2 separate regions of the Homo sapiens genome follow, and region 2 is linked to region 1. The links are contacts of gene promoters, found by promoter capture Hi-C in blood cells and fetal thymus (Javierre and others, 2016). All regions are on one chromosome and are shown on one strand. The core of a region is centred on a gene start or on the middle of the fragment in contact, and the rest is flanking DNA. Distances in the headings are between cores, read along the strand shown. Region 1 holds the start of CDH23 (cadherin related 23). Region 2 has its middle 33 kb from the start of LINC03139.

Region 1 (5,720 bases), core at 1,089-3,588:
TAACAAGTCCCCAGGTGATGCCGACGCTGCATGTCCACAGGCCACACTCTGAGGAGCAAGGTTCCGCTACACCTTCACCTCCCAGAAGAATGTGCATTTTAAATGAGCACTTCAGGAAGGTGCCCTTTAAAATACTTGGCTCAAATAAATGAACCTCAAATGGTGAAACTGCAGGTAAGGTAGCTTGTTGAGTGGGGGAGCTATTCCAGAGGCAACCAGGACCATCTGCTATCACAACCCTCAAATCAAGCCCTTTGGTAAGCAGACGTGAGGAGCCCAGCTGTTTAGAGGTGAGGAAGGCCAAGTCTGAGAAGTATATGCGGACCCAGCACAGACGGGGCCAGGATGCTAGCTCTGGGCCTCCCACCCCTCACTGCTGTCCTCCAGCACTCGAGGCAGAGCTTCCTGGTTCACACCAGTGGCTTCTGTGTGCCACCTTCCCAACTCACGGGGGACACCCACCCTCTACCACGAGACACTCTGCCTTCCTGCCCTCCCCAGCCCTGGCAGCCAGAACCAAGCCTTGCTATTCCCCCAGGCAAGGGGCCCCTTCCCAGCTCCTCCTTGGCAGAGTAACATCTAGTGCCCCCACCCCTGTAGGTGCTGACCGCAGTGCGCCTACCCCTGCACCACGAACCAAGCACTAACTCCAAGCCAGCTCTCCCCATCGTGGGCTGACTCATCATCACCATGCAACTGGCCCCAACTAGGTTCTTAAAGCCCGCCCCACCCCACACCCCACAACCTAATTCTTCCCTGTGTGAGGGTCTGACTCCACCCAACACACACACACACACACACACACACACACACACACACACACACACACTCCTGTGTCTCTCTAGCTTATTTCAAAATCCAAATTAGGGTTGGGGCACTTCCCAAGGGGCTGGAAGGCGAGGTCAATGTCAATGCCAGCTCTGGTCTGAGAGGGCAAAGGACGTAGAAAAAGAAGGCTCTGCTTTCTGAATTACTAGGGAGGATGGGGGAGTATTACTACCGAGGAAAGGCTAATTTCCTCCCAGTGGACCGCTGACAGCACTAGGGCTGGGGCTGGGGTCGCAGTGGGGCGGCGGCTGGCATCGGATCTCCGCTCACAGCACGGAGGCAGCCTCTCTAGGTGCCCGCTCCGAGAAAGCCAGGCAGAGTCCCCGCCGGCTGGCGCCGTCACTGCCTTGGAACACGCGGGCTCTGCTCGAGTCCTGGGCTGACCTACGGTGGAGATGAGGGGCAGTGCTCCCGGGTGCCAGCTCCTGGGGGCAGCCAGCACCGCTCGTAGCGGACCAGTTCCAGGGCCAGGAAGGCGAAGCGAGAGCCGCAAAAGGCTCCCGGCTCCTCGAGGGGCGCGTCTTCCCATAGCTGGACCGAATTTGGGAGGATGTGTAAGTCCCCTGGGGTCTCCCGCGGGCACAGGGACTTGATGAGGGGAGGGGAGAACTACGTGCCTTTAGTTCCCCTCAGCGCCTCTGCCCAGCCCGCAGTAGGGGTGCGCCCCACCCCATCCCCACTGTCCAAATGGGGACCCAGGGCTCAGAAGGGGAGGGGATTGGATCCCAACGCGCTCCACTCTCGAAAATCTCTCCACCCCAGACCTGGACCCTCTCCGTAGCGCCGAGAGCAAAGCCCCCAAATGTTCGCGGTCCCAGGACCGGGGATGGGGGATGGGATGCCTGTCCTCCCAAGGCCAACGCGAATGGAATTCGAGTTCCCAGGAATCAAAGTTGCCGCGCGTCGGGGAGCTCGGAGCGGGGCGCGAGGCTAGGGCCAGGGGCCTGGGACCGAAGGATGCCGCGAGCGCCCGCCACGGGCGATGGCCGCGCTGGGAACAAGTGGTTCGGCAGCCGCGGTCACCACCAACTTCCCCGCCGCGCGGCGGGCGAACGGCGAGGGGAAGGAGAGGGAAGCGAGGAGGGAAGAGGCGGTGCGTGGCTCCGGGTACCGTGTGCGTGTGTGCAGCGGCGCCGCGCCTCGCCTCGCCTCGGGCTCTGCTCTCCGCCGGATCGGCCCCCGCGGGCCGCCTGCTCTGGCCCTGGCCACCGCCGCGTCTTCCCGCCGGCGCGAAGGCTCATCCGCGGCGTGCCGGCAGCTCCTGGGTCTCCGCGGGCCGCTCGCCGCTCGCCGCTCGCCGCTCGCAACTTCAGGCGCGCCGGGGGCTCGGACTGGGCGCGCCCCAAACGTCCAGAGGCTCTGCCACCCCGCGCTCCATGCCCAGGCCGGGCTGACTAGCCCCGACCACCTCAGCGTCCGGCCGCCGTCGGACGCGTCCTCTAGCCAAGCATCGCGCCTGCAGCCCGCGTCCCTCTCTCCCGAGCCGCCGCCGCCGCTCAAGTCCGCGATCAACTTTCCCTTGCTTCCCCCGCCCCGCTCGGCCCCCGCCCCGCTCGGCCCCCGCCGTCCAGACCCCGCCTCCCGCAGCTCCCTCCCTCACCTCCCGCCTCGCCCGGCCCCCGCCCGCCCGCCCGCGCTCGGCGCTCCCCCACCCCTCAGGCCGCCAGGACCCCCGAGCTCCCGCCCGGCCCCGCCCGGACCCCCGGGAGCGGCGCCGAGCCCCGCCGGGCGCTCAGGGCATGAATATTTCAGTGCTGGCGAAGCTGCCCTCTGCCGATGTCATGGCACCGGCTGCTGTGGCAACTCTACGAATCCCCCAAAGGGGCAGGGAGGAAGCCCGCGGAAGAGGCCCCAGGTGCGAGACAGAGCAGTGCCCCGCCAGGCCGCCAGCCGTCCCGCAGAGGGGCGCGCAGGGGGATGGGGCCCCCAGCGTCTCGTCCGCCCCGCGCCTCAGGCAGAGCGAGGTAACGCTCCCGGGAAGCCCGGGCGGGCGAGCGGGCGCTCGGCCTAGGTGAGCCCGCGCCATCTGTTGGCTTTAAGCGCCCCCTCTCTGCTCCCAGAGTCGCTGAGCAGTCCCTCTAGTCCTTGGGGCCTCTTGGCCTACGCTTCTCTCCAACCAGCTGCCTTTGCCCACCCGACTCGTGCGCTCCCATCTGCGCCTCCTCCCTCACTAGAGCTCAAGAGGCCTCCAAGTGCTTAGAAATGGAGGACCCCGGGTTGGAGGAGACCCGTGAGGTCACTTAGGCGCCCTCACCCCTGCGGGAGCTCCGTCTGCAGTGCCCGAGTCATGGTCTCCCGGCTCCTTTTTGCACACCTATAGGGACAGAGACTTTATGGCTTTCTGAGACAGCTGGATCAAGAAAGGGTCCATATGCAGGTAATGGAAGAGGTTTATCCCCTACCTTTGATCTTTACTTCCCCGGGGCTAAGCATTCTGATTTTTTAAAACTATTTCTCACATGACAGGATTTCCGAGCTGTCACTGTTCCAGTCAGTACATTGACAGTACCTGCCTGGAGCCAGGCTCTGGGCTGAGACTTTCTGGGCCTCAACTCATTCTATCTTCAATAAAGTCTTTCTGGTGGGCCCTGCCATTATCCCAGTTTTACAGTGAGAAACAGGCTTTAGGAGGTTGGGGACTTGCCCCTGTGGTGGAGTCGGGTATTGAACCCAGAATCTATCTGGTTCCAAAGCTCCAGTTCCTTACCATTCGCTCATTCATTATTCATTCATTCATTCACAGTCACTGCTATGTGCTAGCTAACTGAAATAGTTTCTAGGAATAGGATGGAGAACAAAACAGGCTTGGTCTTTGTGCCCCATGAAGCTTCTCTAGTAGGGGAACCAGACATTCATCAATGAAACACATAAGCAGGTAAAATTACAGCCAGAATCAGTGCTAGGAAGAAGAGTGCTTTAATGGCGCCTGGCCGAGGGGATCAGGGAAGACCTCCTAGAGGAGGTGACTGAGCTGAAGGATGAGCAAGGGAGAGAGAGTGGAGTTTTAGGCAGGAGAAACAGCATGTGCAAAGGCCCCAGGTGCCCACTGCAGGCAACGGCTGGGCCAGGAACAATGGTTTGGTGACCGCAGTCGCAATCAACTTGTGCAAAGGTGGGAAGGAGCTGGCATATGTCAGGAAGTCCAGAAAGGGTGGGGAGAGCTCCGTGCCTCCAGCGTACGAGGAAACGCTCCTGGGAAGCTTGGGAGGGTGAGTGAGCCTGCACCATCTGTTGGCTTTAAGCACCCCCTCTCTGATCCGAGTCACTGAGTGGTCCCTCTAGTCCTTGGCAGTGACTGTAAAGCCACAATGGAGTGGGGGCCAGACTGTGCAGGTGTGTTGGCCTTAATCAGGAGTTGATCTTTATCCTAAGACTGAAAGCTTCAGAGGCCGGGCTTGGTGGCTGACACCTATAATGGCAGCATTTTGGGAGGCTGAGGCAGTAGGATCACTAAGACTCTATCTAAAAAAAAATAAGAGAGAGAGAGAATTGATTGGGAGGCAACAGTTGATGAGAAGAGACTGCTTCAATTAAAAGTATTTATTTGTCAAATACTATGTGCCAAGAAATTTTCTAGACCAGGGGTGAGCACACCGCTACCCAGAGGTCAAATCTGCCTCATCACATGTTTTTGTAAAGAAAGTTTTAGTGGCACACAGACATGGCCTGTTTGGTTGTGTCTCCTTTCACACTACAACTACAGACATAAGGAATTTCAAGAGGGACCGCATGGCCTGCAAAAACAAGAAATATTTACAGCCTGGCCCTTTACAGAAAACGTTAGTTAACCCCTGTGAATTTAGACACTTTGGATATGTCAATGAACAACACACACAAGCACACACACACAGGCACACACACATGCACACAGACACGCATGCTTGCGCCAAACAAATCCTTGCCCTGGTGAAGCTTACATGTCCTCAGGCTGCTGCAGTGTCTAGGTGATTGGTGACAGAGGCCTGGAATGAGGGGGTGGGTAGAAGTGGAGAGAAGTGACTTTCAGGAGGTAAAAATCTACAGGGCCAGGAGGACAGGGAGTGGTTATACGTGAGATAGAGCAAAGGGTCAAGGAGACTTCTGGGTTTCTGGCTTGTGGTGGTAGATGGACAGTGTGCTGTTTCCTGTGATGGGGCCCTCTGAGGAGGCCACTATGGAGACCTGAGCAAGAGCTCCCTTGGGACATGTTGTGTGAGAGGCCTGTGCAGTCACAGAACAGAGATGCCAAGTAGGCTCTTGGACAAATGAACTGGAGTCGTGGTCCTACATGTCTTAGGTGGTCATGCTTTTACACAGTGTGATGGAGCCAGGAGTCCGGAGAGCGGGATCTGAGTTCTAGGTCACCCTCTAGCTGGATGGTAGCGGGCTGGACACTGGACCTCTCTTGGCCTTGTGTTCCCCATTCGTAAAATGAAAGCATGAGAAGAGGTGTTCTTCAAGGTTCTCCACCCCTCAAACCTTCTGTTACACACTGTGCCAAGCACCGTGCTGGGAACTGGGGTGTCAGTTGGGATGCAGCCAGCCCACAGAACCACCGTGAGTGTGTAACAGACAGGGAATGGAAGGGCTGAGAATTCTAACTGGATGGCGAGGCGACCCAGAGTGCAGCAACAGCAGAAAGTGTGCCACCCCTAGACTGGAGGGATAAGGGAGGAAGCAGAGTGACCAGGATCAGGGCACACGGTGGAAGGTGAGACCACAGTGGGCCTGTGTGGTGTGGGCTCGAGTCACAGAAACACAGCTACTGCCAGAGACGGTGGAGTGTGAAGACACATCCCGGCTTCTTTCCCCAGCCCTCTCGTCTCCCACCTGAAGACAGTGGACCTGGGAGTTTGCGGGGTCAGCCTGCTGTGATGCAGAGCAGCACCACAGAGGGGAGGAGAGAATGGCCC
Region 2 (5,720 bases), core at 1,866-4,365, 510 kb before region 1:
AGCCTGGGCAACAAGAGTGAAACTCCATCTCAAAAACAACAACAACAACAAAAACAATTACAGCTCTGGATGCAATAGAAAAAAACAACCCTTTGAAGGCATTGGAGAACAGCACAGAGCAGGAGAGTGGAGTGGATGTGACTCTTGAAAGAAGGGGGTCGTGGGCTGACATCCATGTTTCTCCAGTTTTCCCTCTGGTATCCAGAGGATGAAAGCCACTGGACACTGGCTTCAGGGATCAGAGGTCAGAGTGTTACAGTAGATAGTTAGCGAGACATCAACAGGGCCCCCCAACACCAGGAATGTCAGGCAACCATCAGGTGATGGTCAGGCGGTTGTTAACTGTCTCTCTAAAATAATAAGTGGTTGCAGCCAGTGCCAGGGAAAGGCAGTCTCCTAATAGATAGAAACACCTGAAGCAGCTTCTGGGTAAGATCTCAGGAGTTAGGTGAGTGGGCTCCAGCATGCGCACTAAGAGGCAAAATGGTGGAGTTTAACTGGCATGTAACCTTCCTCTAGGAACACTCACTGGTAAGGGAAGAATGCCTCAAGTGAGCATGTGCCCAACTTCAGTACACACACTGAGCATGCTCCCTCCCAAGTGCTGTCATCCCACTGTGCATGCAGACAGCCCACCCCAAGGGAAGAATCAGGGGAGAAATAATGCAAAACCGCGGAAGCGTGCCAACATACAAAATCCCAAGTCAGAGGTTGAGCCGTGCACTTGACTCTCTCAAGTTGCCTGCTTGGCCCTCTTCCAAGTGTACTTTACTTCCTTTCATTCCTGCTCTAAAATTTTTTAATAAACTTTTGATCCTGCTCTAAAACATGCCTTGGTCTCTCACTCTGCCTTATGCCCTTTGGTTGAATTCTGTCTTCTGAGGAGGCAAGGATTGAGGTTGCTGCAGACCTGTGCAGATGACCATACAGATTCACTGCCTCTAAACTACTCTGGTGCCATGTGACTCAGAGACATCCCTAGTGGTAACAGGAGTTAAGGGCAGGTCCAGCAGCTAGGGATGGAGGGAGGAAATCCCAGCAGAGTAGGAGCCATGATTGGGGTTGGGGAGGGGGAGAGCAACATCTGCCTAAGAACACCCTAAGATTCTTTGCCAACTCCTGACCTGCACGTGTGCTGGGCGAGACTCTCAGGAGACCAGGGGAATTAAGAAGCCCATGGAAATCCTGGAATAGCCAGATACAATTCTGAAATAAAAAAATCTAGGCCGGGCGCGGTGGCTCACGCCTGTAATCCCAGCACTTTGGGAGGCCGAGGCGGGCCGATCACGAGGTCAGGAGATCGAGACCATCCCGGCTAAAACGGTGAAACCCCGTCTCTACTAAAAATACAAAAAATTAGCTGGGCGTAGTGGCGGGCGCCTGTAGTCCCAGCTACTTGGGAGGCTGAGGCAGGAGAATGGCGTGAACCCGGGAGGCGGAGCTTGCAGTGAGCCGAGATCCCACCACTGCACTCCAGCCTGGGCGACAGAGCGAGACTCCGTCTCAAAAAAAAAAAAAAAAAAAAAAAATCTACTGGGCTGGGCACAGTGGTTCACACCTGTAATCCCAGCACTTTGGGAGGCCAAGGCAAGCAGATCACCTAAGGTCAGGAGTTCGAGATCAGTCTGGCCAACATGGTGAAACCCTGTCTCTACTGAAAATACAAAAATTAGCCAGGCGTGGTGGTGCGTGCCTGTAATCCCAGCTACTCTGAAGGCTGAGGCAGGAGAATCGCTTGAACCCAGGAGGCAGAGGTTGCAGTGAGCCGAGATTGCACCCCTGCACTCCAGCCTGGGCAACAGAGCGAGACTCCGCCTCCAAAAAAAAAAAAAAAAAAAAAAACTATTGAAAGAGGGCTGGGCACAGTGGCTCATGCCTGTGACCTCAGTATAACTGTGAGAAGTTCATTGCCCAAAGCACACAGCATGTCAATACAAGACCCCAGGCTGCAGAAGAGAAAGAGGTTTAATCGTAGGGTCACCAAACAAAGAAATGGGAGAGAACCTCAAATCCATCTCCCTGAGGAGCCTGGGGCTAGGGTTCCTAAGGGTTTTGGAGTGGGCTGAAGTGTGGAGATCACTGATTGGTGGAAAAGTGCAGGGTGAAGTCATGGGACTGGGAGAGGAAGCAGCTGTATTCCCATGCTGATCCCATTCCTCTGTGGGAGTGTCCAAACTGGCTGCTGGAATTTGGCGTCTGAAAAACATCTGAAGTGATCCTTCAAGAAAAGCCTTATGATTCTTATGTCAGAGACCCTGTCTATGGGAACAATGGGGATGCAATCGGTCAGGATCTCATGCTGACTTCTAGAAACAAGGAAGTGGGCGAAAGTGTAGCCTGATTAATGCTTAATTGTAACTGTATTTCTGTCTAGAACCCAGCATGCAATGCTTGTCAACCCTTCACCAGCACTTTGGGAAGCCCAGGCAGGAGGATCACTTGAGCCCAGGAGGTTGAGGCTGCAGCGAGCTATGATTGCACCACTGCACTCCAGCCTGTGTGACAGAACACGACCCTGTCTCTAAGAAAATTTTAAAAATCTACTAAAAGAGGCCGGGCACGGTGGCTCATGCCTGTAATCCTAGCACTTTGGGAGGCCCAGGCGGGCGGATCACCTGAGGTCAGGAGCTCAAGACTGGCCTGACCAAAATGGCGAAACCCTGTCTCTACTGAAAATATGAAAAAATTAGCTGAGCGTGGTGATGGGCACCTGTAATCCCAGCTACTTGGGAGGCTGAGGCAGGAGAATCGTTTGAACCTGGGAGGCAGAGGTTGCAGAGAGCCAAGATCACACCACTGCTCTCCAGCCTGGGCAACAGAGTGAGATTCTGCCTCAAAATAAATAAATAAATAAATAAAAATCTACTAAAAGAAATTAATATTTTGTGCTTTTGTTATCTTTCACTTATAAATATTTTCTAATTTCCCTTGTGACTTTTTCCGTGGCCCAGAGAATATGTATTTAGAAGTCTTGCTTCCTTTGAGGGTGTTTCTGGATATCATATTGCTATTGATTTCTAAAAGAATTTTTTAAATTCCATTGGATCAAAGAACATACTCTGTATTGTTTCAATCCTGTTAAGTTTATTGAGACTCATTTTATGGTCCAACATACAGTTTGTCTTTTTTTTTTTTTTTTTTTTTGAGACAGGGTCTCACTCTGTCCCCCAGGCTGTCCCCCAGCCTTGACCTCCCAGGTTCAAGCGATTCTCCTACCTTAGCCTCCTGAGTGGCTGGGACTACAAGTGTGCTCCACTACTTCCAGTTAATTTTTTATATTTTCTGAAGAGATGGGGTTTTGCCATATTACCCAGGCTGGTCTTGAATGCCTGGGTTCAAGCAATCTGCCCACCTTGTCCTCCCAAAGTGCTGAGATTACAGATATGAGCTGCCATGCCTGGTCCATATGGTTTATCTTGACCAGCATTCCTTGGGTATTCTAGAAGAATGTGTATTCTACTGTTGGTGAGTATTGTGTTTTACATATTTCTGTCTCCTGCATGGCCAGCCCCACGTCAATTAGGTCTGAGTTCCAGGAGGAAGGAGACAGAAGACAAGTTTGCAGCCGTATCAGGAAAGCAAAGACTTTCCTGGGATTCCCCAGTAGCTTTCTTGGTCAAAATTGTGTCACATGGCCACTGCTAGCTGCAAGGGCTTGAGAAAAGGTGAGTTTGTAGTTGTCTAAGATCCTACCTGATCCAACTTGAATATGTGATGAGTGGCCCAACCCATAACACCTGCCACATTGTGTTAGTGAAACCACCTTTGCAAAATTATGACAGTGAGAGAACTCTGACAGAGTGGACTCCATCTTCCCTCTAACCTCCAAGCTGTCCTTGGTCATTCCTGGGCATAGGCCAAGCTGACTTTGGGAGGAATTTAGTTTTTAGCTTAAGGCAAGCATGGTAATAGCCCTTCCCAAAACTAAACCACCTTTGTAAAGCTAATAAAAGTCCACAAAGATAGGGTTATGAGAAGGGCCTGAACTCTGATAAGATGAAGGCGCAGTAAATTATTATCAGTATTGTTCCGGATGTCACAGATGTGTGACTTCCTCAGTTACTCCTATAAATAACAACACTCTTGTAGAACCGAAGATCGGCCTTTTGAGATGTCTTTTCAGACTTTTGCATTTCTGATGATCAACTGACCCCACCTGGACCACCGACTCGTGACTCAACTGGTCCTGTGGCCCCCACCCAGAGGACTTGGAGCACGAGGACAATTTTCCACACCCCTGTGATTTCACCCCAACCAATCAATATTCCTTCTCCCCCAGCCCCCTGCCCACCAAACTGTCCTTGAAAAACTCTAACCTCTGAGCCTTTGGGGACACTGATTTTAGTAATAACTCCGTCTTCCACGTAGCTACCTTCTTTCTCTACTGCAGTACCATGGTCTCAATGAATTGGTTTTGTTCGTACAGGAAGCAGGAGGAACCCATCGGCTAATCATATCTAAGTCACATCTAACCCTCACACCTTTGCACGTGTTGTTTCCTGTACTGGGAACACCTTTGTCTCTGCCATGAACATACCCAAACTTCAGGCTCATCCTAGATAGTACCTCCTCCATGAGGCCTTCCTGGCTCCCCAGTAATTTTTCTCTGTCTTTCTTTCTGTCTGTCTTTCTTCTTTCTTCCTTTCTTCCTTTCTGTCTTTTCTTTCTCTTTTCTTTCTTTTTTTTTTTTTTTTGACAGAGTTTTGCTCTTGTTGCCCAGGCTGGTGCAGTGGTGCAATCTCGGCTTACTGCAACCTCTGCCTCCCAGGTTCAAGTGATTCTCCTGCCTCAGGCTCTTGAGTTGCTGGGATTACAGGCACCCACCACCATGCCCAGCTTATTTTTGTATTTTTTAGTAGAGACAGGGTTTCACCATGTTGGCCAGGCTGGTCTTGAAATCCTGACCTCATGATCTGCCTGCATTGGCCTCCCAAAGTGTTGGGATTACAGGCGTGAGCCACGGGTCTCAAGAATAGCTTCTTTTTTTAATCTGGAGGCTTGCAGCCCTTTGTGCACACCTGTTCTTCTTCAATGAATACCTGTGTGCCCCCAACCCAGATTTCACCAATTCTTCACATTTTAGCATGTTTTCTCCCTCCCGTCCCCATCCTTTTAATCTCTGTCTCTGTGTCTCTATTTTCTTTTTCTTTTGTTTTTGTTTTTTGAGATGGAGTTTCCCTCTTGTTGCCCAGGCTGGAGTGCAATGGCATGATCTTTGCTCACTGCAACCTCCGCCTTCTGGGTTCAGGCGATTCTCCTGCCTCAGCCTCCCGAGCAGCTGGGATTACAGGCATGCACCACCATGCCCAGCTAATTTTTATATTTTTAGTAGAGACGGGGTTTCTCCATGTTGGTCAGGCTGGTCTCAAACTCCCGACCTCAGGTGATCCGCCTGCCTCGGCCTCCCAAAGTGCTGGGATTACAGGTGTGAGCCACTATGCCCAGCCTCTGTCTATTTTCTAATTTGAAAGTAACTTGCCAATCTCTTGGCCCTTCACCCATAAACACGAAGGTGTACGTCTCCTAAGAACAAAGATATCCTCCTACGGAATCACAGAATCATCATGACACCCGAGAATAACATTCATTCAAAAAGATCAGCAAACATGCAGTCTACAGGACATTCACATTTCTTCAACTTTTCCCTTAAATTGTCTTTTTTATTTCCTGATCCAGGATCCAATCAAATTTCCTGGCTACATTTGGTTGTTATGTCTCTC

What was found. The method cuts DNA at HindIII sites, captures the fragments that hold promoters and counts their contacts. A CHiCAGO score of 5 or more calls a contact.
Region 2: a contact is called between a fragment that was not itself captured here and the fragment with the promoter of CDH23 in region 1, in 1 of 17 cell types (neutrophils). The highest score is 7.6, in neutrophils.

What each region holds. Positions count from the first base shown.
Region 1 is chr10:71,393,538-71,399,257 of GRCh38, reverse strand. It overlaps CDH23 (cadherin related 23), which reads right to left and starts at 2,338. Exons shown (of 70, transcript NM_022124.6): 1 at 1,940-2,338. RefSeq lists an enhancer at 1,535-2,046 and a silencer at 2,730-2,819. The HindIII fragment of the contact is 8,970 bases long and covers 1-3,657 here.
Region 2 is chr10:71,907,907-71,913,626 of GRCh38, reverse strand. No RefSeq gene overlaps it. Among named protein-coding and RNA genes, the nearest start is that of LINC03139, 33 kb to the right of the region's middle. RefSeq lists an enhancer at 3,835-4,064. The HindIII fragment of the contact is 9,081 bases long and covers 1-5,720 here.